7 separate regions of the Homo sapiens genome follow, and regions 2, 3, 4, 5, 6 and 7 are each linked to region 1. Evidence: promoter capture Hi-C in 16 types of primary human blood cells and fetal thymus (Javierre and others, 2016). All regions are on one chromosome and are shown on one strand. The core of a region is centred on a gene start or on the middle of the fragment in contact, and the rest is flanking DNA. Distances in the headings are between cores, read along the strand shown. Region 1 holds the start of GNPTAB (N-acetylglucosamine-1-phosphate transferase subunits alpha and beta). Region 2 overlaps UTP20 (UTP20 small subunit processome component). Region 3 overlaps UTP20 (UTP20 small subunit processome component). Region 4 overlaps UTP20 (UTP20 small subunit processome component). Region 5 has its middle 23 kb from the start of ARL1. Region 6 overlaps LOC105369935 (a long non-coding RNA gene). Region 7 has its middle 28 kb from the start of MYBPC1.

Region 1 (3,886 bases), core at 842-3,341:
TGGGATTACAGGCATGTGCCACCATGCCCTGCTAATTTTGTATTTTTAGTAGAGATGGGGTTTCTCCATGTTGGTCAGGCTGGTCTCAGACTCCTGACCTCAGGTGATCCACTCGCCTCAGCCTCCCAAAGTGCTGGGATTATAGGCGTGAGCCACCGTGCCCAGCCTAATGCAATATTTTTAAAAAATCAAAATTAATGGTTGGGCGCAGTGGCTCATGCTTGTAATCCTAGCACTTTGGGAGGTCAAGGCAGGTGAATCACTTGAGGTCAGGAGTTCAAGACCAGCCTGACCAAGATGCTGAAACCCCATCTCTACTAAAAATGCAAAAATTAGCCGGGGGTGGTGGCATGTGCCTGTAATCCCAGCTACTCAGGAGGCTGAGTCAGGAGAATTGCTTGAAGCCAGGAGGCGGATGTTGCAGTGAGCTGAGATCACGCCACTGCAACCCAGCCTGGGCAACAGAGCAAGACTCTGTCTCAAAAAAAAAAAAAAAACCCAAAAAACAAAAAAAACAAAAAACATTACTGAAGAATATCCATGAAAAGCAAAACACCCAAACTTTATGTTTTATTTTACGTTTTAAATTTTTTTTTTATTTTAATAGGAACAGGGTCTGTTACCCAGGCTGGTCTCAAACTTCTGGGCTCCCAGACTCCTGGGCTCAAGCTATCCTCCCACATTGACCTCCCAAAGTATTGGGATTACATGCATGAGCCACCACACCCAGCCCCGATATCAAAACTATAAACAAAGACAGAATCTCACTCCAAACTTGCATGACTCATTTCACAGTACCTTCCCCTAATCTTGGCCCTGTTCTACAGCCTAAGTACCTGGTTCAAATCTCAATTCTGTCATTTACTATTTGTGTGATGTTAGATAGTTACTTTTTTTCATCACAGTTTCTTGATCTGTAGAATGGGGATAATAATGGTATCTCCATTATAAGATTATTGTGAGGATTAGATGAGCTGGGCACATGGCAGATGCTACATAAATGTTGGCCATTATCCTGAGAGTCCTGTTGAGTGGCAGATGTTTTTATATCTGTTACCATGCTTTTTTACCCCTTCTGATTAAGTCCTCAGATCTGTTATCATGCTTGAAAAGACCTCAGAACTATATGTGTCTTGTACAACTGCAATAATCTTTTGCCATGTACATATAGCATATATCAATCATCTTTTTTAAAAGAAGGATTAAAAGAAGTGACTGCAAAGTGTAAAAAATCTTGCCTTGGATTGGAGTGAAGCTAACCCCTTTTGCAAGTCTGTTAATTCCACCTGACCATCAAACTGAGGGTGCGAATTTGAGTATTTCCTGAAGCTGGTTCCCAAGATATTTTTAAAAATGCTTTGAATGATGGCAACATTAGATAAGTGTATTGTTTCCCAGGGTGACTAGGAAAAAAATCTTATTGACTAGGGTGCATTGGGATTAAGAAAAAGATCTCCCTTTCGTAAATCAGAGGCACCAAGGAAAGGATCTCGTGGGAAAAACCTGCTGTCAAAGTCGGATTACCTGGCCACCCCTGAGCTGGTTCCCCTCCAGTTCATCGCATGATTTCTATCATAACAACTCTTGTATTTAGTGGTTTACATGTTTATCTCCCCCACTAGACTCTCTGAGAACAGTAGCCAGGTCTAGTTCATTTTTGAATACCTGACACCAAGCACTATGCCACCTAACAGGCACAAATTACATATTTAACGACTAAATGAATGAACGAAATTCGGTTTTGGCAGATTTAACCCAAAGGTTTCCTCTTTCAAACAATATAGTTGGGGGTTGGAGGAAAGGAGCCACATACAGCATCTCCTTTTAGCACTCTGCAGAGAATGCTAAGTGCAGAGAAGGTTTTATGCACAAAAATATTCATGGCATTATAGTACCGTCTATGGCACAGTCTCGACGCAGGGGGCAGTTTTCTCTTGGTCGCCTGCCCAACCGGGTAAGTGGATCCCAGCTCAGCTCCGCCCCTCCCAGCCCAGCCCTCAGGGCCCGCTGCGCAAGCGCAGGTGGGGAGGGCGCGCACCTTCCCTATGCCCCTCCGTCCTCCAGGTGGCGCTGGAGACCCCGCCGCCGCCGCAGCCGCCTCTCGCCCGGCCAGACCCGGGCGGCGCCGGCCGCCTCGCCGGCCGCAGGTCCGCCTCCGCCGCGCCGAGGGCGTGGGCTCCCGGCTCCCGGAAGCGGCGGCCGCGGCGCGGAGCCGAGCGGGCGTCCGTCGCCGGAGCTGCAATGAGCGGCGCCCGGAGGCTGTGACCTGCGCGCGGCGGCCCGACCGGGGCCCCTGAATGGCGGCTCGCTGAGGCGGCGGCGGCGGCGGCGGCGGCTCAGGCTCCTCGGGGCGTGGCGTGGCGGTGAAGGGGTGATGCTGTTCAAGCTCCTGCAGAGACAGACCTATACCTGCCTGTCCCACAGGTATGGGCTCTACGTGTGCTTCTTGGGCGTCGTTGTCACCATCGTCTCCGCCTTCCAGTTCGGAGAGGTGAGTAGCGGCGCCGCAGCCTGGACCGGGCGCCTCGACCCTGCACTGCCCTCGCCGTGCCCCGCGATGCCCCGATACAGTATGTATTTTTTCATTATTAGAGACGGGGTTTTGCCATGTTGCCCAGGCTGGTCTCGAACTCCTGAGCTCAGGCGATCGCCCTGTCTCGGCGTCCCCGAGTGCTGGGATTACAGGCGTGAGCCACCGCTCCCGGCCAAATACAGTATTCTTTATCATAAACGTGTGCAGAGACTATGAGCAAGTCAGAACTGGAAAAAGGCATGTATGTGATTTTAGATATTGCTCCCTCGCCCACCGTTTTTTAAAAATAGAGACGGAGGTCTCCCTATGTTGCCCAGGTTGGTCTGGAAGTCCTGGGCTCAAGTGATCCTCCCTTCTTGGCTTTCTAAAGTGCTGGGGTTACAGGCATGAGCTACCGCACCTGGCCCAAGAAAGCCACTTTTAGCAACGGGGAGGAAAGCTGTATTTTTAAGTGGTTTGAAATCTGTTCCTTAGTTTTAGTTTTTTTCTTTTTCTTTTTTTTTTTTTTTTTTGGTAGGAGGTTACAAAAGGTTTTAAAATTTAACAGAGTAGTTTTTAGAAATGCCACAGTATACATTTGCTTGAAGTCTTTACCCATGCTGGATTGTAAGCTCCGTAAGAGAAGGTGCTGTCTGTAAATACTGTAACCCTGGCCCAAGCACAGTGCCAGGTACTGCCAGAGAATGCAGTGCAAGTGTTTGTTTAATGGCTAAATTATATGGCATGAATTCTGAGCATGTACTTTTTTAGTAGTTCTTGGTTCTAGAGGCTGGGAAAAAATGTCTTACCATAAGGGTGAGAAAGCTCCAGATTTGTAAGTGTGAAATATGTACTTAATATTATAGTACTTGCTCGTCTTTGTTTCATGTGTTGCAACTTAATGTATCTGTGTGTAGTTAGGTGCCTTATTGCTTTTGTGTGATTTTTTTGGCCTTGATTAATTTTGAGTTAACTGTTTATTAAGTCCCATGCAGTGTGAAGATGACTTAAAGGCATCAGGTGTTAGAATTCTTCATTTTATTTTATTTTTTTGAGACAGAGTCTTGCTCTGTTGCCCAGGCTGGAATGCAGTGGCTCCATCTCGGCTCATTGCAACCTCTACCTCTCAGGTTCAAGAAATTCTCCTACCTCAGCCTCCTGAGTAGCTGGGACTACAGGCGCGTACCACCATGCACAGCTAATTTTTGTATTTTTAGTAGAGATGGAGTTTCACTATGTTGGCCAGGCTGGTCTCAAACTTCTGACCTCAAGTGATCTGCCTGCCTTGGCCTCCCAAAGTGTTGGGATTACAGGTGTAAGCCACCGCACCTGGCCCGAATTTTTCATTTTATATCCTTTTCTTTTTGCTTTCAT
Region 2 (3,886 bases), core at 550-3,049, 500 kb after region 1:
TCTTTTTATCTTTTTTTTTTTTTTGAGACAGGGTCTCGCTTTCACCCAGGCTAGAATGCAGTGGCATGATCATGGCTCATTGTAGCCTCAACTTTGTTGGCTCAAGCAATCCTCCCACCTCAGCCTCCAAGTAGCTGGAACTAAAGGCATGCGCCACATGCCCAGCCAATTTTTTGATTTTCAGTAGAGACAAGCCCTCACTACGTTGTCCAGACTGGTCTCGAATTCCTGAGGTCAAGCAATCCTGCCTCTGCCTCCCAAAGTACTGGGATTACAGGCGTGAGCCACTGTGCATGGCTACATTTTTCTTTAAACTATGTATTTTGAGATCTTTCCTTGCTTTTACTCAGCTGCCTCATTCTCTAACTGTACCAAAAGTAGTTCACTGTATGGAAAGACCATAAATTACACTATTAGTTTCCTGGACTGCTTTAACCAGATTCATCTAAAACACTGCCCTTTTTAAAGAAGGAAAAAAGAAAGGTTATACCTTGCGTTTCTGCTCCAGATACTGATCAGTTTCAGCAGAGGAGTAGGAGAATATTGACTCTCAGATCCAAGCCTGCTGATCTAGGAGACAAAGTAAAAAACAGAATACCAAATACATATACCAAATTATAGAAAAACCACAAATAACTAACAAGTACAGAAATCACAGCACAGGATGAAAAAGACAAGGGACAGAGATGAACATCCAAATGACACAATAAGAAAAAGTATAAAGAGATCCAAAAGAACATCTACATAGGAAAAATGGCAAAGGTGATGCATGGAAGTGCTAGACACCAGAAAGGAAATGGTATTTTAGGTTTCAGAGTGTTGGAAATGACTGGGACCTCAAACACCTAGAAACATTTCCTAAAATCAAATCTCTCCTTCAGTCTATACCTATACCAGTTACCATCACCAAGGGGTTACAACCAGAGAAATCAAAATAGGAAGTATGTAATAAAAACACCTGGGTGTTTTCCCTCACACTTGTCCAAAGCCAGAGGCAACGCTATGTGAGGTGCTATAAAAGTCATGTTACAGGCCGGGCACAGTGGCTCACGCCTGTAATCCCAGCACTTTGGGAGGCCAAGGCAGGCGGATCACCTGAGGTCAGGAGTTCAAGACCAGCCTGGCCAACATGGCGAAACTCCATCTCTACTAAAAATACAAAAATTAGCTGGACATTGTGGTGCATGGCTGTAATCCCAGCTACTTGGGAGGCTGAGGCAGGAGAATCTCTTTCTTGAATCCAGGAGGCAGAGGTTGCAGTAAGCAAGACTCTATCTCAAAAAAACAGTTATGTTACAGTTGCTTAAGAGACACATTCATATTCAACTGAGCCTTAAGTGTAAATGCCATGGTACAGCAGAAACTAACTCTTGAGTTTTAGGTGGTAGTGAAGGCAAAGAAAAGTGTTCTAAAAACTTCCAGAAAGAAGGGCTCGATGTAAAAGGAAAGACCCAGGTAAGCATTCATGTCTGGGTGGTAGCTATGTTGGTGAGTTAGTAATAAAGGAAAAAGCAGAACGTACATAGGCAGATGTAGAAATTGAGGTTTACCTGGGGCCAAACTGCACCATGAAACACAGCATCAATTTCTTCTGTTCTAAACTGATATGATTCCCAGTCCAAAAAGATATCAGTTACCATTTTGATTCCAAGACGTCTTAAATTTTTCAATGGATTAATAAATCTCAGCTGTATCTGTAAAACAAAGATCTTCTGTTCAAAAAATACATATGTATCATTTTTATCCCTGATTCCTCAGAGAGGCACTCTTGCTCAGGTGGCTAAGAATCAAACTGGAAATCCTGTTACTAAATCTGTTGACTTGATTTACATGGGAACACCAACCAAGCAAACTGTCTTACTTTTCTCATTGAACAAGAAAAGAAAGCAGAGTCTTAAAACAATATCACTGCCTAGTAGTCACACTAGTTATCCTTAAGAAAAAATATTACAACTGGAATAGTTGTTTTGTATTCTGTATTGTTTTACTTTTTCATTCAAGTAAAATCCTGATTTCTTCCCATGAACAGAACATTCTAAACAAAGCAAAACTTTTTTTTAAAATTTTTTTCCCAACATAATGCCTTATATTAGGGGGAAAAAAATTAAATCTTCATTTCAAATAAAAGCCATTTTTCTATTTATTTCCATACTTAATATTTTACTTTTTTAAGACTAGAAGTTATAAATTATTCTTGTTAAAATTAGTCTAGGGGACTAGTTAAGGAATTTATGATTTTTCCATACAGTGAAATACTTTGTACAGCAAGAGGATGATGTGACTGAGTCAAGGGATAGGAAGATCTCAACATACATAGTTCAAAGAAAAATGCAATTTAGGAGGAAATACGATTTGTCTGTTTAGAGGCATAGAGGCTGGAATGAGTGTGAAATAAAAGCAAACCTTTAAAATAACAAATATTGCTACTTCCACTGGCATCTCCTTCGCTGTGAGTTATAAAATCACAAATACGCAGCCAATTTGTTCAGGCTCAGAGTAGGACAATTTATTGAGTCCCTACTAATGGCTCCAGTGGCATGCCATTAGTATGAATTGAGGTCCTGACCTCAATTCAACTGAAAATCTTATTAAAGGCAAATTTATTGAATGTATGTGAGAGACTGAAAATGCGAAAGACATTTCTTTTTTTTCTTTTTGAGATGGAGCTTCGCTCTTGTTGCCCAGGTTGGAGTGCAATGGCACAATCTGGGCTCACCGCAACCTCCACCTCCTGGGTTCAAGTGATTCTCCTGCCTCAGCCTCCCGAGTAGCTGGGATTACAGGCATGCACCACCACGCCCCGTTCATTTTGTATTTTCAGTAGAGACGGGGTTTCTCCATGTTGGTCAGGCTGGTCTCGAACTCCCCATCTCAGGTGATCTGCCCGCCTCGGACTCCCAAAGTGCTGGGATTGCAGGTGTGAGCCACCACACCCAGCCCAAAGATATTTCAGTAGGAGGAATTACTACAAATTTCAGGATAGAGCTTCATGGAATAGGCAGATTTCTACTGGGTATTAAAGAATGAAGAGCTTTAGGCCAAGCAGAGGAAAGACAAGGGCCTCAAAGGGATTTTTCCCTAGCACAGAATGTTAAAAAAAAAAAAAAACAAATGGGAGAAGATTCAACCCCTAATTGTTTTCCCACTTGATTAGTAAACTGTGGGCTCTAGACATACAAGTGATAATTTATTTTTATATATCACCTTAATTACCTACATTAAAACCTAAAAGCCACCTTGCAATTTATAAAGACAACACAAATGCTCTCATATAGTGAATATCAAGTCTTATGGCCAAGATAACATGAAGAAAACTAATAGGAAAATTACTTATCATGAAAATCTGATAATCTGACAGACAGAGGTATTTGAATCTGATACAGCACATTTTAAATTCAAGTAAATATGAACAAGGATGTCATTAGTTTGCTGAGCAAGCCTCAGGAATCATGGTATCTCACATATGTTCTACTTTCAGCTTATTATCTTATACAAGTTACAAAGGAAATGACAGGTAAGCAAGCACAAGGTGATGTAGTTACAAGTCATTCTGCTCTGCTTCAATTCTACTAGCAATATTTTCATCAGCTGCATCAAGTTTAGTGAAAGATAAAAATTATCCCTGATATTTGAAAAAACATATTATATGGAGCAAATATGAAGCTCACAACTGCAAACATGATATCAAATAGACACTCCCCATCCATCTCCCATTCCCACCAACCACCCTTCCCATTGGGTACAATCTGCATGTTCTATTCATTTCTGTAACTAAAGTGCCAGCTGCCCAATTTACTCAATAATTGTTGAATAAACTAGAGAAAAATCCTGAAAATGAGCAATCATAGAATTTAATTCCTAGAGGAACAGTCAATATGATTGAGTT
Region 3 (3,886 bases), core at 723-3,222, 470 kb after region 1:
GCAGTGGCATGATCTCAGCTCATTGCAACCTCCAGCTCCTGGGTTCAAGCAATTCTCGTGTCTCAGCCTCCTAAGTAGCTGGGATCACAGGCATGTGCCACCCCACCTGACTAAGTTTTGTATTTTTAGCAGAGATGGGGTTTCACCATGTAGCACAGGCTGGTCTCAAACTCCTGGTCTCAAGTCATCCACCCACTTCAGCATCCCAAAGTGCTGGGATTACAGGTGTGAGCCATTGTGCCTGGCCTAACGTAAATATTTAAATTGAGATTCAAAATGTTAGTGTCTACATTTTAAAACAAATGAACAAAAGGTTATGTGGCAAATTTATTATCTTCACAATGGTAGCCTCCAAATTAGTATACTATCCAATTTTGTTTTGTTTTGTTTTTTTGAGACAGAGTCTCACTCTGTCGCCCAGGCTGAAGTGCAGTGGCGCGGTCTGCGCTCACTGCAACCTCCACAGCCCAGGTTCAGGGGATTTTCCTGCTTCAGCCTCCTGGGTAGCTGGGATTACAGGTGCGCATCACCATGCCTGGCTAGTTTTTGTATTTTTCTTAGAGACGGGGTTTCACCATGTTGGCCAGGCTGGTCTCAAACTCCTGGACTCAAGTGATCTGCCCACCTCAGCCTCCCAAAGTGCTGGGTTTACAGGCATGAGCCACAGTGCCTGGCCCAATTTTAAAAGTTATTATTAATTTCCGACTGTATTATAAATAAAGCTCCTGTGAACATAACTTATTTCTTAAAAATAGATTCTTAGATGTGACTGAAAATCTTTTCTCATTTCAAAAGCTCTTGATACAAAATGGCAACTTACTTTCCGGAAAGATCATATCAATTTATGACCTCCTTGCAGTGACAGAGTGCCCATCTCGCTTTAGTCTTAGCTCTTTAAACCTCTGCTAATCTAAAAGATGAGGTGTTACATTATTTTCATTTTTATGGGCTATTATTATTTCTTATTTGGTGAATTGATTTTTTTGTGTCGTTGGCCCACTTAAAAAAAAATTAGAATTCGTTTCTGTAAGTCTTACCTCAATCATTATATCTAAACAAGAGTCCAAATCTCCGACCTGCAGCTTATTGGTGAGGCCTTGCAGCAGCATGTGAACGGTGAAAGTCAGCACATGGACCTAACATGAGACACACAGCAACAACATGAATATTAACAATGTCACACTAGGAAAACATAAGATCTAGGAAGCACTGCAAAGAGAACACTCAGAGTTTATATGTCTTTTATTGCCAGGAGAAGCTTCGACAAATGACACATAGTTATTTCACTATCTAAAATCCTGTAACCAAATGATCACTTTGTACCAAAGGTGTTCAGAAACCCACTACCATTCTTAGGATCTATTGTTGTGACTAAACCAGGCCAGTGATTTATAAAGAAAGGCACAAGAGTCTTGAACTTTATTTATTTATTTATTTATTTATTTATTTATTTATTTATTTATTTATTTTTGAGACAGAGTGTTGCTCTTGTAGCGCAGGCTGGAGTGCAATGGTGCGATCTTGGCTCACTGCAACCTCCGTCTCCCGAGTTTAAGAGATTCTTCTGTCTCAGCCTCCCGAGTAGCTAGGATTACAGTCACCCGGCATCGTGACTGGCTAATTTTTTTGTACTTTTTGTAAAGATGGGGTTTCATCATGTTGGCCAGGCTGATCTCGAACTCCTGACCACAGGTGATTTGCCTGCCTCAGCCTCCCTAAGTGCTGCGATTACAGGAGTGAGCCACCATGCCTGGCCAAGAGTCCTGAACTTTAAAGAAAGAAGACCAACCTGTGAATTAAGGAGCTTGCCCATGTTGAATGTAATCAAAGCTTGTAAATAAAATATTATGAAGGAAACAAGTTTTTGCACCCAACAAAAATCAAGCTGATGTTTTCTGAGAGCTTACTACAGGGTAGGTACTATATTAATACCTTACATGTATTAAATCATTTAAGCCTCACTCATCCAATCTATGGAGTAGGTACTACATCATCAGCAGTTTTTAGATGAGGAAGCTGAGGCGCAAAGAGGTCATAGGTAGGAACTGGTGGAGTGAAGATTAGAAACCAGAGTCCCAGGCTCCACAACAGGTTATCCTGCCTCTCAAGCTTTTTGAATTCTTTATGCTGCTTCTAGTGCTGTGAAATTAACAAGGTAAATATCAGATAATGATCATAGGCTAAGGAAACACATTTAGTTGTCAAAACGTAGATTGGGTCTTAAACGCATAGTTTCTTATGTACCTTCTTGTGGTCTTTTATTTTTTTGGAGGCAGAGTCTTGCTCTGTCACCCAGGCTGGAGTGCAGTGGTGCGATCTCAGCTCACTGCAACCTCTGCCTCCCGGGTTCAAGAAATTCTTATGCCTCAGCCTCCCGAGTAGCTGGGATTACAGGCATGTGCCACCATGCCAATTTTTATATACAGATATTTTTTAGTAGAGACAGGGTTTCAGCATGTTGGCCAGGCTGGTCTTGAACTCCTGACCTCAAGTGATCTGCCCGCCTCAGCTTTCCAAAGTGCTGGGATTACAGGTGTGAGCCACAGCATTCGGCCCCTACTTGTGATCTTTAAGTACTTTTATATATAGACGGTTCCCGACTTACAATGTTTTGATCTATGATTTTTCAACTTTATGATGGATTTATTGGGACACTGTCTCATCATAAAAGTCAAAAAGCACCTGTACTTGAAATGTTTGCTGTGAAATTAACATACATATTTTGAGACAGGGTCTTGCTATGTTATCATGCTGGTTTTGAACACCCTGGGCTCAAGGTGTTCACCTCCCACTTCGGCCACCTGAGTTGCTGGCACTAAAGGTACACACCACTGTGCCCAACTTTCCTGTAACTGTAAAAAAACCTTTTGGTGGAGGTGAGGATGACGAGTGATGCTCGAAGAGAACAATTTTGGTACAGTCTACATGATTAACACTAAAGCTGAAATCAGTTGTTCTCTCAACTCTAATTTAGTTATTTTAACTAATAATGGGATAGACTTGAAGAACAGATGGTTAGAGAAAAAAAGGGCTACTCATTTAAACACCTCAAGTGTTCCTTAAAAATGTGTGCATGAATCCTCAAGAACAGAGATGTAGTCCTCCTTGTATGTCCAGTTCTCAATATACCATGTCTCGCAATGCTGTGGTGGTGGCAGTGGCCTTGAAACGGGGAAGGGCAGGAGCTACAACTCTGGGAGGGGAAGCTTCCTCTCCATTCATTGGAACTACAGTTCTGAGAGGGTTGGCCTAGTCTAGTTGCTTTTCTCTTTCTGTGCTGCCATTGCTTGGCCCCTGACATGGGCACAGCTGCAGGAGGCACATGGCAGAGTGGGAAAAATAAAGCCCCAGTTTTCTAGCTGAAAGACTGAAACAAATGCAAAAATTAAGTGTCAGCAAAGAAACAGAAGATCTAAAGAAAAAATAAATGAAAATTTTAGAACTGAAAAACCCAAAAACTGAAATAAGAAACTCATTGGATGAGCTCAATTGCAGAAAGATATGAAAGAGGGAAGAGTCAGTGAAGCTGCAGATAGACTGAAAGAAATTATCCAACCTAAACAGAGTGGAAGAAGAGCTATATATATATATATATACACACACACATACATACACACACACACACACACACAGCCTCAGGAACCAGTGGGAGAAAAATAAACATTCATTTCACTGGAGTCCCAGGAGAGGAGAAAGAGTGCACTGCAGGAAATTTACTTTAAAAAATACTGGGGCTGGGTGCAGTCGCTCACGCCTGTAATCCCAGCATTTTGGGAGGCCAAGGCAGGCAGATCTCTTGAGGCCAGGAATTTGAGACCAGCCTGGATAACACGGTGAAACTCCATCTCTACTAAAAATACAAAAAAATTAGCTGGGCATGGTGGCT
Region 4 (3,886 bases), core at 524-3,023, 450 kb after region 1:
CTTTTATGTGAGAAACATTCTTTCTGGGACAGCAGAAAGCATACAGAAGAGGGCAATCAAATATAATACAAATATGCCTATTTGTTAATTATCTTGATATAAGTTTTCTTTTTAAAAATAAACTCTGGCTGGGTACAGTAGCTCACTTCTATAGTCTCAACACTTTGGGAGGCTGAGGTTGGAAGACTGCTTGAAGCCAGGAGTTTGAGACCAAGACCAGCCTGGCATAACATAGACCACTATTCATCTCTCTCTCTTTTTTAAATGTATGTGTGTGTGTGTGTGTGTATATATATAAATATAAACATATATAAGTATATAATATATAATTAAAATATATATATAAATAAAAATAAATCTCAGGCAGGGAGGGAGGACAGAAAGGAAGAAGGAAACATTCAGGAGAGAAGTTAGAAATCCTCATGTGCAAAAGGCAGGAGAACAGACGAGGCAGGGTTACCTTGCTCTGAATAGGTGCTGTTGAGTTCCCGAAACAAAGGAGCTATGATCATTGGGAGATACGGCTTTACCTTGTCTATCCCAAGATCCATTGCTACGGCGCCGAGGAACTTAAAGATGCATGTTCTCTGAAAGTACAGATCATTTTTTTCATTTGAAAGACTTCTCTTTAGCACTCAATCATAGACACAGCATTAATTGAGAAAACAGGGCTCAGTCTATTTTGGGACGGATGTTATTGCTGCAGTTTGGGGTTCAAAGATAAAGTTTCTAGGGACTTAGGAGGATCACTAATATCATTAAAATACTTTTTAAAGAGAAATGACTACTGTCAGTCATTCTGTGCATTCATCGCACCTTTAAGGGGTTTCTCGGCGAATAAGCAGCTTCCAGTTTTGCAATCCGGGACAGCTTCTGGATCAACCACAGCAGCGTGGCCGGCCTGCCGAGCTCTTCCTTCACCTCTTCCTTCTCTTCTCCGTCAGACTCCGCCTTCTCATCTGCACAGGCCACACCATCTTCTAAAGCTTCTTGTTCTTCCAGGTCTTCTTTTATCTTACTTTGCTTATCCTCACAATAAAGTTCCAGTAAATACAAGACTTTGGCTGCGAACAACAAATTCTTAACAACCTTTAAAAAAAAACGGGGTGGGGGAAGAAATTGGACATTGATTTTGAAATAAATAAGGCTTAGTAGAGCATAAGCTAAAATAGGTATTCTACAATTAGAAAACAAAAACAAACTAGGTATTACAACTATTTAACAACTATTAAATGATGAAGGCTCCATTTTTAGATATTCCTTTTTTTTTTTTTTTTAAAGACAGAGCCTCACTCTGTTACCCAGGCTGAGGGCAGTGGTGCAATCTCGGCTCACTGTGACATCCCCCTCCCAGGTTTAAATGATTCTCATGCCTCAGCCTCCTGAGAAGCTGGGATTACAGGCGTGCACCACCATGCCTGGCTAATTTTTATACTTTTAGTAGAGACGGGGTTTCGCCATGTTGGCCAGGCTGGTCTCAAACTCCTGACCTCAGGTGATCTGCCTGCTTCAGCTTCCCAAAGTGATGCGATTACAGGTGTGAGCCACCGTGCCTGGCCTAGATCATTCTTAAGTTCTTCCTCATAGGGCATCCAAACCCATTTCCATGTAACTTTGATCTATCTGGACTAGTTCTACCCTTTAAAGTCACACAGAATAAGGAAACAATTTCCTTCTAGGCCCTCCATTTACATTTTTTGTTTTGTTTTGTTTTGTTTTTTGGGTATTTTTTGAGACAGAGTCTCACTTTGTTACCCAGGCTGGAGTGCAGTGGTGCGATCTCGGCTCAGTGAAACCTCTGCCTCTGGGTTCAAGCAATTCTTATGCCTCAGCCACCCCAGCAACTGGGACTACAGGCTACCGTGCTCAGCTAATTTTTGTATTTTTAGTAGAGACAGGGTTTCGCCATGTTGGCCAGGCTGGTCTTGAACTCCTGGCCTCGAGAGATCTGCTCATCTCGGCCTCCTGAAGTGCTGATGTTACAGGTGAGAGTCACCACACCAGCCCCATTTTACATTTTTAACAACAGCTTTCATCTCTACCTCCATTAAATTCCTTCCGCCATTCTACATAGAAATAACTATTTCTCTCTCTTTTTTTTTTTTTTTTTTGATACAGAGTCTAGCTCTGTTGCCCAGGCTGGAGTGCAGTGTGGTGATTTTGGCTTAGTGCAACCTCTGCCTCCCCAGTTCAAGTGAGTCTCTTGCCTCAGCCTCCTGTGTAGCTGGGACTACAGGCATGCGCCACCATGCCCAGCTAATTTTTGTCTTTTTAGTAGAGATGAAGTTTCACCATATTGGCCAAGATGGTCTTGAACTCCTGGCCTCAAGTGATGCACCTGCCTCGGCCTCCCAAAGTGCTGGGATTATAGGCGTGAGTCACCGCACCCAGACCCTTATTGGGAATTTTAAATGGAGCAAAGAGTAATCCCAATACAGACCCAGTGTTGACAAGACATATGTGTATTTGAACATATATTTGAGTGTATGTCTGTATTTCATCTAATCCCCCAAGCATTAAGATAGGTTCAAAACAAAACAAAATAACAAATGTAAGCTTAGACTGTTGATAGAATAGGCCCCTTCTTTATTTCTGAGACGGAGTCTCGCTCTGTCACCTAGGATGGAGTGCAGTGGCGTGATTTCGGCTTACTGCATCCTCCGCCTCCCACGTTCAAGCAATTCTCCCTGCCTCAGCCTCCCAAGTAGCTCGGATTACAGGCACCCGCAACCATGCCCTGCTAATTTTTTTGTATTTTTAGTAGAGATGGGGTTTCGCCATGTTGGCCAGGCTCATCTCGAACTCCTGACCTCGGGGTGATCTGGCCGCCTCGGCCTCTCAAAGTGCTGGGATTACAGGCGCGAGCCACCATGCCCAGCCGGCCCCTTCTTTTAAACTGGGAGAACTACAATTCTTACCTGTTCTCCTAGAGACTGATCCAAGAATTTGGAATGCAATTGATGGCAAGAGGCGAGAGAGATACTTTTCATCTGTGAAAAGAAAATGGACATTGGTAGACAAAACACAGGACATTTCTGATTGTTTTTAAAAAGCTAAACATAATAACTGTAATACAACTAACGTACTGGATTTTGCTCTGAATGACCACCTGTATAGATTTGGAGAGGAAAGGTTCATGACCAGAAGTGGTGTACTGCTCCCTTCTACCTGCCCTAAGCATTTCATCCCAAATAAATGGGATACTTTCACATTTTGGGGAGAAACAGGTAATAATACTCTACATTTTTTTTTTTTTTTTTTTTTTTAAGACAGAGTCTCACTCTGTGGCCCGGGCTGGACTGCACTGGAGTGATCTCGGCTCACTGCAACCTCTGCTTCCTGGGGTCAAGCAATTCTCCTGCCTTAGCCTCCCAAGTAGCTGGGATTACAGGCACCTACCACCACACCCAGCTAATTTTTTGTATTTTTAGTAGTGATGGGGTTTCGCCATGTTGGCCAGGCTGGTCTCGAACTCCTGACCTCAGGTGATCCACCCACCTCGGCCTCCCAATGTGTTGGGATTACAGGCATGAGCCACCACACCCGGCCAATCCTCTACATTACTAGTAGAGCACTTTACTACAGTCCAATATTTTTTTCTTCCTCTTTTCTTCCCTTCTACCCTCCACTCATTCAATATTTATGGGGTTCCACTATGAGTGAGACATTGTGCTAGGACCTAGGAAACCAGAGACACATATATCATGGTCCCTAACATTTTCTTTTCTTTTCTTTCTTTCTTTTTGTTTTTTTGAGATAAGATCTCGGTCTTGCCCAGACTGGAGTGCAGTGGCATGATCACAGCCCACTGTAACCTTGACCTCCCCAGGCTCAGGTGATCCCCCTATGTAAGTCTCCCAAGTAGCTAGGACTACAGGTGTACACC
Region 5 (3,886 bases), core at 710-3,209, 400 kb after region 1:
TTTGCTTTCCTTGATTTCAGTTACCCACGGTCAACCCTGGTTGAGGAAAATAGGTGAATACAGTACAGTAAGACATTTTGAGACAGAGAGATTACATTCACATAACTTTTATTACAGTGTATTGTTATAATTGCTGTTTTATTTTATTATTAGTTATTGTTGTTAATTTATTTCTGTGCCTAATTTATAAGTTTAACTTTATCATAGGTTTGTAGATATAGGATAAAACAGTATATATAGGGTTCAGGATACTATCTGCAGTTCCAGGCACCCACTGGAGTCATGGAACGTATCCCCTGCAGACACGGGGGGACTATGCAATGCGGTTGAAGCAAACAGCATACTGACTGGCCCACAGTAAGCGCTTGATAAATGTTAGAAGGAAGTACATGTAATGAACATTCAGTGCACACACGATAAGAATCTGTGGGATAAAGTAAACATTTGTTTTCCTTTTTGAAAAGTGTGGCTATCTTGTGACAGATACAGATAATAAAACCCATTTAGAGATATTCCATTTGTCTAATCAACAGTCTAGTAATTGCCAGTCACTGGTTGAGGTTTAAGCCTCTCAAGGATGGCAGCCATTGAGAGTTGACCCAGGTGTGGAGATGCAAGCTGCAAATGGCAGGGCTTCACGGCCGTCTGGAAGAGACTTTGTTACCTCCTTCACCTACCTGTGTTTTCTGATGCTCTTAGTATTCTTAGTTTTCCCATGTCTCAATTCACAAGATGGAAAGAACTACGGACTGAAGAAGAGAAGAGTTCAAGTTAATGAGCAGGGTGACCTCAAGGCCACAGCATCCCCAGTTGTAAAACAAGGAGACTGGAACAGATGATCTCCGAGGTTCTTCTGGCTCTAAGCATTCTATAAAAATGCCAGGCCTGAGTCAGCCCTTCTGGTCTCTATGAATTCTGTATTCTGTGTTGCTCTATTCTGAAGAACTGAGATTACAGATGACAGAGAGCTTTGCAAAACCAGAACTAAAGATGACCTCCTTCCATAAATATTTTATCAGAAGCTAGAGAACTACATAAATGAAAAGATAGTTAAAAGTGAATATTAATGTCTGTCTTCTGAGAATCTTCACTTTACTTTGTGAAGAGAAGTTTCCATCAGAGGTATGTAAACTAAATTAAGAATAGAAATTCTTTAAAGAAAACAAACTTAAATGACTAAAATCTGTTAAGAATAAGATTCATTATACTTTATAGCTCCTATTCAAGTGATACATTACTTTATTAGGTGTACTCATTTAGCTTATATTTTCCAGCATTTTCAGAAATATTATATGTTTTGCATAGTAATGATTATAATGCTTTACATTTGTGGAGCTAATACTTTACAAGTTTACCAAGAGATTTTACAGTAAATTTCAATTATAATGACTTACAACCAAAATATTTATCTGATCAAAAATTTGGTAATATGTAATATAGTTACTTACTCTTGTCAAAAATTATAAATTTATATTAGGGTTAAAGTGTATTTTATACAACAAATATTGCAAGGTGGTTAAAACGCAGCTGTTCAATAGAAATGCAAAGTAGGATGGTAGGTTCTGAAATGCTTCTACGTTTTTTCCCACAGTTGTGAGTTAAGCAATATTCAAAGAACTTCCTTATTTTAACTTTAAGATTAAAACAACTTCTCTATATCAATAATAAAGATTCTTTGTCTTTCAACAGGCAGAAAGTCCACTTCATTATTTGGTATGCAGCATGATATTTAGTATAAAGCAGATTGTTTGACCAAGCTGTTGAAATCATGATATAATAACAAATCATACTCTATGGACAAATCTTTTATGCAATATGATGCTAATTTCTCATGCATAATATATTGTGTGTATTTGGCTTTGAAAAGTGAGACAAAAACAGCAGTAGCAAATGCCAGTGTTTCAGAAGCTAAAGAGAAATTTGAAATTTAATATCAACATTTATTTTTAATATCGTTAACTTTTGAATGGATCAAATTATTGCTTAGCTTGGACTGCCTCATTTGAATAGGCTGGGGAAATTCCAAATTGGCAGTTTCCTCTATGTTCTGGAAAACAATTTTATAAAATACTGAAACATTTGATATCTCTCTGGAGCACCAATGCTATAGTAAATTATTCATTCATTCATTCATTTATTCAACAAAACTTGCAACTTACTATACCTGAGCCACTGTGGTAAGCCTCCTAGGAAAGAAAAAAATATATATAACTGGTTACTTGTGTACATAATGATAAGCAACAATTAATAGTTGTAGGTGATTAGTGTAACATTCCAAGTGCCAGCAATGGATACTATAATATAATAAAGATGGGGGGAATTGGGGAACTAGAGTAGTAATGGAAGGCTTTGCCCAGGAGAAAGAGCTTGAAAAGGTGAGTTGGATTTATATGGAGGGAAATGAATAGAGAAAGCATCTCAGGAAAGAGAAGCAATATACAGAACTTTATAGCATCAGTCATGAAAAAGACAATAAATAGACCAGAGAACATAGAACTTCGTAATTACTTCAATAGTTGTCTTAGTCTGTTTTCTGTTGCTTAAAACAGAATAACTGAAAGTGGGTAATTTATAAGAAAAGGAATTTATTCCTTATAGTTATGGAGGCCGAGAAGTCCAAGGTCAAGGGACCATATCTGGTGAGAGCCTTCTTGCTGGTGAGGACTCTCTGCAGACTCCCAAGGCTGTGCAGGATGTCTCATGGTAAGGGGACTGAGTATGCTAGCTCAGGTGTCTCCCTTTTCTTAGAAAGCCACCAGTCCTACTCTCATAATAATCCATTAATTCATGAATCCGTGAATCCAGAAATGGATTAATTCGTCATGAAAGCAGAGCCCTCATGGCCCAGTCACCTCTTAAAGGCCCCACTTCTCAATACTGCCACACTGGGGATTAAATTTCAACATGATCTTTGAAAGGTAGAAAAAGGTACAAATATTCATGCATTAGCATCCCCTGGGAGCTTGTAGAAATGCAGAATCACAGTCTGATTGTGCATGTTCAAGGTCTTTGGTGCTTTTTTTGTTTGTTTTTTTGTTTTGTTTTTTTAGAGATGCAGTCTCGCTCTGTCACCCAGGCTGGAGTGCAGTGGCACCATCTCGGCTCACTGCAAGCTCCACCTCCAGGTTCACGCCATTCTCCTGCCTCAGCCTCCCGAGTAGTTGGGACTACAGGCGCCCGCCACCACGCCCAGCTAATTTTTGTATTTTTAGTAGAGACGGGGTTTCACTCTGTTAGCCAGGATGGTCTCGTTCTCCTGACCTCGTGATCTACCTGCCTCAGCCTCCCAAAGTGCTGGGATTACAGGCTTGAGCCACCTCGCCCGGCCAGGTGCTTTGTATGTAGACATTAAAGTCTGAGGAGTTTCACTCTTGACCAATCCTTCATTTTGCAGAGGAATCTGAACCACAGAGTGGCTGGATGGCTTTCCCAATGGTAATGGCAAACCTCACTATAGAAGCAAAATCTACAGAGTCCTGGAAACAGTGAGTTTCCCCCCGATTCCACAATGTTTGACTGAACTGGAGAGAGGTAGTCAGTTGGATCTGATTATGGAAGTATCTGAATGCTAAGTTAAGAAATTCAAGCCTCATCCTTCATGAATTCAACAAACATTTATTGAACTCCAGTGTGGTAGCACTGGAGATACAGAGAAGAATAAGAAAGACGCTGCCCTTAAAAAGTTAGCCTTCTAAAAAAGTAAGTAACTGCTATTATTTAAATGTTCCTGCCAAAACTCATGTTCAAATGTAATTGCCAGTCGGGCGCGGTGGCTCACGCCTGTAATCCCAACACTTTGGGAGGCCGAGGTGGGCGGATCACGGGGTCAGGATTTCGAAACCAGCCTGGCCAATATGGTGAAACCCTGTCTCTACTAAAAATACAA
Region 6 (3,886 bases), core at 594-3,093, 300 kb after region 1:
AGGCTAGAGTGTAGTGGCGCGATCTTGGCTCACTGCAACCTCCACCTCCCAGGTTCAAGTGATTCTCCCACCTCAACCTCCTGAGTAGCTGGGAGGCGCGTGCCACCAGCACGGCTAATTTTTGTACTTTTTGTAAAGACAGGGTTTCACCATGTTGGTCAGGCTGGTCTTGAACTCCTGGCCTCAAGTGACCCACTCACCTCAGCCTCTCAAAGTTATCCTGTGATATTAATATGGATTTGTGGCTGGAAGCCATAGTTTTGAGAAGACAAGTACTATCTTCTTACCCTGGTAAAGTAGGGTTTAAATCTCTTGAGAGATCACCAAAAAACAAGCTGGGAAAATTCTATAGCTGTGAACCTAATTTTACATCCTAATAAAAATATGATACTGCTTATTTTCAAAATTCAGTAAGAGTCTATTTGCAGACTTAATGGTGTAAAGAAGTTTGTCAGATTACAGGTTGCCCAGCTGTGAAAGTACAGCTCAAGACCAAACTTTCCGTGTTAAGCTTTGAAGTGAGGTAGGAGTTTTGAAATGGCATATGATTTTCATCATCTTAAGATATCAGACATACGGTTCTAATTTAGAAACCCCAAAGTCAGACCTTACTGAGAGATTGCTTTGATCATTAGGAGGTGGTTAAACTTATATCTGATTACAGTAAGAGCTAACATTTATTGGACACCAACTCTGTGCCAGGCAATGTTTTAAGTGCTCTTTTAATCTCCATAACAATTCTAAATGAGGTTTGTACTATAACTTCTCCCAGTTTATAGACAAGGAAACTGAAGCACAGAGAGATTATGTAATTTTCCCAAGATTATACACTTAGGTCTTCTATGTGTATACTAGCCCATGGGGCTGTTGGGCACTTGAAATGTGGCCCAGCCAGAATTAAGATGTGCTCTGAGTATAAAATACATACTAGATTTTGAAGACTTAGTATGAAATGCTATATAAAAATCTCAATAATTTTTTCTATTGATTGTGTGTTGAAATGATAATATTTTGAATACACAGGGTTAGGTAAGACATTATTAAAATTAATTTTTCTTTCTTTCTTTCCTTTTTTTTTTTTTTTTTTGAGACAGGGTTTCACTTTGTCACCCAGGCTGGAGTACAGTGGTGCGATCTGGGCTCACTGCAGCCTCAACCTCCTAGGCTCAAGCAATCCTTCCACCTCAGCTTTCCCAGTACCTGGGACCACAGGCATGCAACACCACGCCTTGTTAATTTTTGTTTTTTTTTTTTTGTTTATGTTTTTAGTAGAGAACAAATTTTGCTATGTTGCCCAGGCAGGTCTCGAACTCTAGAGCTCAAGCAAGCTGCCGGCCTCGGCCTCCCAAAGTGCTGGGATTACAGGTGTGAGCCACCATGCCCAACCAACATTACTAAAATTAATTTAATCTATTCTTTTTCTTTTTTTAATATGGCTACTAGAAAATTTGCAATGATATTCATGGCTTTCATTCTGTTTCTGTTGGACAGTGCCGATCCACAATCTCACACTACATTATACTGTCTCTCCATCTGGTAGCAAAGCCCTTTGTGGCTAATGGCTGCATTTTGCATAAGGCTGTCGGTAAGGTGAATAATGCATTGAAGAATGTGGAATGAAAAACAAGAAGAGAAGCAGAGATGTCATCCAAAAGTATCAGCATTAAAATCCTAAAGCAGGGAGACAAGTTAGCTATTGTCTTCATCACCTACAGCTCCGTGGAGCTATTCATTGTATGCAATGCCTCCTCATGTCTAGACTCTGTCCTGGCTAGGGCTTTGATAGGCAGATACCAACAACAAATCAACACCTTCTTTGTTCCCTTCTAGACAACAGAAGAAAAACCATGCCTCTTGATGACTTACCTTTGTGTCTATTAATATAACACCTCCCTCTACCCAGCAGTTGTATTCATTCATGGATTTATTCTCTCCCTGCCAGTTTTATTGAGGTAGAATTAACAGATAAAACTTGTGTATACTTACAGTGTACAATGAGATACTTTGATACACATATACATTGTGAAGTGATTATCACAGTGAAGCTAAGTAACCTATCCATTACCTCATATACCTACCTTTTTTAATGTGTGATGAGAACACTTAAGATCTACTCTCTCAGAACATTTCAAGGATACAATACATTGTTATGAACTATAGTTACCATGCTGTACATTAGATCTCCAGAACTTATTCATCCTATAAATGAAAATTTGTATCCTTTGACCAAAATCCCACATTTCTCCAACACCCCCAGCCCTTGGGAACCTCCTTTGGTACTTCCTGATTTTATGAGTTCAACCTCTTTAGTTTCCACATATAAGTGAGATCATGCAGTATTTGACTTTCTGTGTCTGGCTTATTTCACTTAGCAAATGTCCTCCAGTTTCTTCTATGTTGCTTCAAATAACAGGATTTTCTTATTTTTTACGGCTGAACAGTATTCCATTGTATATGTATACATTCCACCTTTTCTTTATTTCTTCATTCATCAGTGGACACTTAGGTTGTTTTCATGTCTTGGCTATTGTGAATAATGCCTTAATGAACAGGGAGTGTGGATATCAATTCGAAATACTGATTTCAATTTATTTGGATAAACACTCAGAAGTAGAATTGCTGATCATATGGGAATTCTATTTTTAGTTTTATGGGCAACCTCCACATTGTTTTTCATAATGGCCACACCAATTTACAATCCCACCAACAGTGTACAAGAGTTCCATTTTCTCCACACCCTCAATGAACACTTATCATTTGACTTTCTGATAATAGTCATTTTAACAGGTGTGAGGAGCTATGTCATTATGGTTTTGACTTGCATTTCCCCAGTGATTAGTGATGTTAAGCACCTTCGTATATGCCATTGGTTTATTCCCAAGTCAGACAGTATCCTCGTCCTTGATATTTTGAGGAATACAGTCTTCTCTTCCTTTTTGCAGATTCTATGGGACAAAGGATGTGGGGCTGTGGGAGAGAGGAGAAATGGGAGGAATTAGAAGTGAGAGACTCAGTGTGAAAAGGAGGAGGCCACGATGGTCGTGGCCCAGACATAGAAGGGGACCCACTGTCCTTTCGCTCTTTGTCCAGGGGCGACAATACCCATCACAGGATGAGCTTTGCTCCATCCCCACCCTCCAACCACCTCCATGATTCTCACTACTCTGAAGCTTCTTTCAAGATTTAAGTTTTAGTTGTTTTCATCAGAACCACCAAAGGGGCAGGGTAATTAGCCAGGTTAGTCTTGCAGGAATAGAAGATGATGCACTACAAACAATATGCGTTCTGTTAACTCCAGGAAACTTTCTTTTTAAGACCAAAATAAATGTTTCAGAGTCATAAGAAGAAACGGTGATGCCTGACAACTTGGTAAAACCTGAGACATGAACATTGAGTCCTGGACTCGGATTGTCTGGCTCTCAGGACAGGATACTCCAGAATTCACTCTGAGGCCTCCACTGGGCAGTCATTGGTCTGCTAAGAACATCACACCGTGGGATAAACTTCCTGAAGTCATAATTTAAACATTGAGTTTTCCTTTTACCCCAGCAAGGCCTTTATGTTGGCTCACAAAGCAATGTAATGACAATCTTGCTTAAAAAAAAACAAAAAGAAAAGGAAAATGCTCCCAGCATATAGGAAAGGGAAGAAACAATAAACACCTTACTGAACAATAACAAAATCATTAGCCTGATTTAGTTGTTAAATTTGTATATTTTCCTGAGTCTTTAAATATCATCTACTAGAATGTAAACACCATGATGGCAAAGGTTATTTGTTTGTTTTGGTCACTGCTGTATCACCATCACCTGGAAAAGTGTCTGGCCCGTAGCACCTACTAAAAAGATGTTTGTTGAATAAATAATGAGTGAACGCCCAGTCCCAC
Region 7 (3,886 bases), core at 784-3,283, 260 kb after region 1:
TCCAAAATAGAGACCAAGGAAACGATCAGATTTCTTTAATGCTCAACTCAGTGCAATAACTTGGCTAATGGAATAAATACACGCTGAACAGTGGCACACTTGCCTTATGAAGAAAGGGCTGGCTGAGAATATCACAATTCTTGCAAAGTCCGACAAATTACAAAAATAAGATCCTTTGGTGAAAGGAAAGCCGCTGATCGGGTTCAAATCCAAGTGAAGAACAGCGTAAGCCACAAGGAAAGCTTATTTGGAAGAGAAGCACCTGATATGTCCGCCTTCTATATATTTCCCTATAACTGGCAGAGAAACTCCTACTGGATTTGGAAAAGTAAAAATAAGGAGTTTATGCAACTTTGAGTGTTGACAGAAAAATTTATCCAAGTGCTTTGCTTGCCTAAGAGGGGAGGAGAGAACAATTGGGTTGACAATGATGACAGGTCCGAGACTTGTGGGTTTAGTTACGTGAGGCCCTACTGTATTACACTTCAGGGTTATTTTGAGATGGTCACGAGAGAGCACTTGAACCCTGAACAAAGAACCTCTCTTGCCTTATCCTATTACAGATGACAGTGAAGTGTTTTAAGTGCCCGGAGTCTGATGCAACTGCAAAACCCCAACCAAAAGGCAAGTGAATGGGGGGTCTTCCATTCTCTTGCTTTGCTTTCCTCTTTAAAAGCCTCTTTGTTCCAAAACTCATGTTTCGCCCTGTTTTTCTGCGGCATTTATAATGGTCTGCCTAAGGAGACATTAGACAGGACTGGTGACATGTTCAGAGTGGGCGTCTGAATTAGCTGGTGACAGGTACAGTAAGAAAATCTTAATAACTCCAGTTACACTTGGTTTTAGCCAACTTTGTCCTCAGAGCAAAAGGAAAACTAGCATTACCAAGAACACATGCCCAAAGCCAGCTTTCCTTGCAGATAAGCAATTCAGGAATATTCAAGCCTTCAAGCCTTTCCTATGACAGAGACAGTAGAATAAATTTAAAATACTAATAAAGAGAAAGCCACTCCTTAAAAAATAATAAACAAGCCACACTATACTTTGTTGGACAATATTTACATCCCTCCAAGTTCAACATTACTTGGTAGCCACTCTGGAAAATATCTCTGTGGCAAGTTAAGACATCGATCCCAAGTCCTGTCTTAGATTAGCACCAGTTAACTGGAGTCTTCCTCCCTTTCCTTCCATTTACATGAACTTGACTAAGATCCCAAATGAATAAGGATCTTTCATCTCAGCACCAGACTTCCAGAGCAGTTATAAATATAGGCTCAAACTGCCTCACTCATGGGGTTAGGTTTTAACTTCTGACATACGAAGTGCTAATGGTTTCAGTGAATACCTGGCCAAAAATCTGCAGTGCTGTCTTTGCTCGTCATATATTATGATTCTATTATCCCAGCTAGTAACAGCTCAGTCAAATGAAAATTTCTCCCAGCCCCTTTGTTGTTGTTTTTTTTCTCACTCCCTTTAGATTTAGTTACAATGCTCAAGCTCTATATCATCAGAAGGTTTAATAGAAGAAAGAAACCATTCTTAACTCTCCAACTCAAGGTGAATGTGATAATGTCACTGGTACAATGATTTATCAAGTACAGCAGTCCTATGTGGTAGGTATTAATGTCCTCATTTTACGGATGAGGAAATTCAGGAATAAACGTTTAAGTAGTTTGCCCAAGGTCACAGAGCTGGGAAGTAAGGTGGAGGTGAGATTTGACTCTAGATTGTCAGGCTGCAAACCTATATTCCAAACCTCAGAGAAAATAAGTTCGCTAACACCCTGGTCTTTCATCTTCTCTGCTCCTCACAACAATAAGCTTGTTCATGCATTTCGAGCAAAATCTGGTAATGTGTTTCTTCTCAATTTGATTATTCAGTAACTCACTTTCACATGTGACCCTTAAAAATTTAAGCAATAACATCTACTCCAAAGATGTCAAATCACCTTATATTCACGGATAGAATTAATTTTGCAACTGTGAAAATTCTACCACATGCGTAACATCCAACAGACATATCAATAGAGTAGAGGTGGTATTTTAAGTTACAATCAGGTTGTTGAGTCATCCCTTCCTCCCCTCCACCCTGGCAAACCCCCCTGCTGCTATTCCTTTCATGTGCCTTTCCACTCCTAATTTGGTTGTCTCCCCTTAATTTGACTATGACACATTCTTTCCTACAGGTTGCCAAACATCCTTGTTATGGGACTCAAGAAAAAGCCACGTAAAAGGAAAGAAAGCTTTCCTTTCCTCTCTGGCCTGTCAAAGGGCATTCTCCCCGCACCCAGACTCCTAAAGAGGAAGGATTCTTGCTTATGGAAGGAAAGCTAGGTGAGCCTAAAGAAAAAGTTGGGGATGGAGGTAGTAGGAGTTAGAGTGAAAGGAAAACATTCTGGGAATGGATGTTAGACGTTTGGAGATGCTGGAGAAAGGTTTGCAACTGCAGAGTGCAAAGGAGGTAGATGAGACAGGAGAGAGGATTTTAATAAGTGCTGCAGTGAAATATGCATTTGGGTTTTTTTTTTTGAAATTTCTTTGAGAGATGCAAGCAAAAGTGGAAGACTTTTATAATTTTTTTTCTGTTGACTTTTGCTTCTTGTTTTTTTGTTTTGTTTTGTGTTTGAGACAGAGTCTCACTCTGTCACCCAGGCTGGTGTGTAGTGGTGCAATCTCAGCTCCCTGTAGCCTCCGCCTCCCAGGTTCAAGCGATTCTTGCCCCAGCCTACCAAGCAGCTGGGACTGCAGGTGTGCACCACCACACCCGGCTACTTTTTGTATTTTCAGTAGGCATGCGGTTTCGCCATGTTGGCCAGGCTAGTCTCAAACTCCTGGCCTCAAATGATCTGTCCGCCTCAGCCTCCCAAAGTGCTGGAATTACAGGCGTGAGCCACCGCGCCCGGCCAACTTTAGCTTCTTTAAATGCAACTCTGTGCAGAGATGGGTATGTACGGAACTTCCCCCTTCTAGATTTATTATTGTTACATCTTTGTCCACACTTCACATCCCTAGGCAAAGATCAAGGAGAAGACTGTTTCTGGAAGAGGCAGAGGGAACAGACAACGCGAAGTCCCTAAATGGGAACAAGTTTGAGTTATTGGAGGAAGTCGGTGTGAGTGGAGTTTAGGGGAAGGCAGGGAGTTACAAAATGAGGTTGGAGTGATGGGCAGAGGTTAGATCCTGCAGCACTCTGAAGTTCAGGAAAGATTTCAGAGTCTATTCTAAGTGTAGGGGAAAATAAATGACTTAAAACCTTCCATTGGAAGGTTTTAAGAAGAGGAGTAGTGTTATGAACCAAATGTGTATGTCTCCCCAAAATTCATATGTTGAAATCCTAACCTCCAATGTGATGGTGTTAGGAGGTGGGTCTTTCAGGGGTGATTAGGTCATGAGGGTAGAGCCTCATGAATGGGATTAGTGCCCTTATGACAAGAGACAGGAGAGCTTGCCGTCCTTCCGCACTCCAGCATGTGAAGATTCAAGAAGATGGCCATCTGTAAAACCAGGAAGTGGATCCTCACCAAATACTGGATTGGCCAAGCACCTTGATCTTGAACTTCTCAGCCTTCAGAACTGTGAGAAATAAATTTATGTTGTTTGTAAGCCACCAGTTTATGGAAATTTGTCATAACAGCACAAACTGAGACAAATGGAATGATTTATTTTATTTTTTAAGAGTTTCTGGGCCAGGTGCAGTAGTTCAGGTCTGTAATTCCAGCACTTTGGGAGGCCAAGGTAGGAACACTGCTTGAGCTCAAGAGTTTGAGACCAGCCTGGGCAACATGGTGAAACCCCGTCTCTACAAAAAAAAAAAAATACAAAAACTAGCCAGCCGTGGTGGCACACACCTGTGGCCCCAGCTACTGGGGAGGCTGAGGTGGAAGTGT

The links. Contacts are between HindIII fragments. The CHiCAGO score rates a contact against its expected background, and 5 or more counts as called.
Region 2: a contact is called between a fragment that was not itself captured here and the fragment with the promoter of GNPTAB in region 1, in 1 of 17 cell types (neutrophils). The highest score is 6.3, in neutrophils.
Region 3: a contact is called between a fragment that was not itself captured here and the fragment with the promoter of GNPTAB in region 1, in 1 of 17 cell types (naive B cells). The highest score is 5.3, in naive B cells.
Region 4: a contact is called between a fragment that was not itself captured here and the fragment with the promoter of GNPTAB in region 1, in 8 of 17 cell types (total B cells, naive B cells, total CD8 T cells and 5 more). The highest score is 7.1, in total B cells.
Region 5: a contact is called between a fragment that was not itself captured here and the fragment with the promoter of GNPTAB in region 1, in 5 of 17 cell types (M2 macrophages, neutrophils, M0 macrophages and 2 more). The highest score is 7.4, in M2 macrophages.
Region 6: a contact is called between a fragment that was not itself captured here and the fragment with the promoter of GNPTAB in region 1, in 1 of 17 cell types (M1 macrophages). The highest score is 6.3, in M1 macrophages.
Region 7: a fragment that was not itself captured here is called in contact with the fragment with the promoter of GNPTAB in region 1 in 6 of 17 cell types (naive B cells, total B cells, M0 macrophages and 3 more); the score reaches 8.6 in naive B cells.

What each region holds. Positions count from the first base shown.
Region 1 is chr12:101,829,164-101,833,049 of GRCh38, reverse strand. GNPTAB (N-acetylglucosamine-1-phosphate transferase subunits alpha and beta) reads left to right here and starts at 2,091. Exons shown (of 21, transcript NM_024312.5): 1 at 2,091-2,491. The coding sequence starts at 2,375. RefSeq lists silencers at 1,909-2,308, 2,665-2,959. The HindIII fragment of the contact is 15,537 bases long and covers 1-3,886 here.
Region 2 is chr12:101,331,109-101,334,994 of GRCh38, reverse strand. UTP20 (UTP20 small subunit processome component) reads right to left here. Exons shown (of 62, transcript NM_014503.3): 28 at 1,551-1,694; 29 at 491-570. Among named protein-coding and RNA genes, the nearest start is that of UTP20, 53 kb to the right of the region's middle. The HindIII fragment of the contact is 4,703 bases long and covers 1-3,886 here.
Region 3 is chr12:101,359,212-101,363,097 of GRCh38, reverse strand. It overlaps UTP20 (UTP20 small subunit processome component), which reads right to left. Exons shown (of 62, transcript NM_014503.3): 44 at 1,038-1,136. Among named protein-coding and RNA genes, the nearest start is that of ARL1, 47 kb to the left of the region's middle. The HindIII fragment of the contact is 279 bases long and covers 1,833-2,111 here.
Region 4 is chr12:101,380,244-101,384,129 of GRCh38, reverse strand. It overlaps UTP20 (UTP20 small subunit processome component), which reads right to left. Exons shown (of 62, transcript NM_014503.3): 58 at 2,919-2,990; 59 at 817-1,089; 60 at 461-587. Among named protein-coding and RNA genes, the nearest start is that of ARL1, 26 kb to the left of the region's middle. The HindIII fragment of the contact is 1,570 bases long and covers 989-2,558 here.
Region 5 is chr12:101,428,369-101,432,254 of GRCh38, reverse strand. No RefSeq gene overlaps it. Among named protein-coding and RNA genes, the nearest start is that of ARL1, 23 kb to the right of the region's middle. The HindIII fragment of the contact is 5,381 bases long and covers 1-3,886 here.
Region 6 is chr12:101,533,062-101,536,947 of GRCh38, reverse strand. LOC105369935 (a long non-coding RNA gene) reads right to left here. Exons shown (of 3, transcript XR_945261.2): 3 at 2,668-2,967. Among named protein-coding and RNA genes, the nearest start is that of SPIC, 60 kb to the right of the region's middle. The HindIII fragment of the contact is 2,659 bases long and covers 514-3,172 here.
Region 7 is chr12:101,564,723-101,568,608 of GRCh38, reverse strand. No RefSeq gene overlaps it. Among named protein-coding and RNA genes, the nearest start is that of MYBPC1, 28 kb to the left of the region's middle. RefSeq lists an enhancer at 1,964-2,258. The HindIII fragment of the contact is 422 bases long and covers 1,823-2,244 here.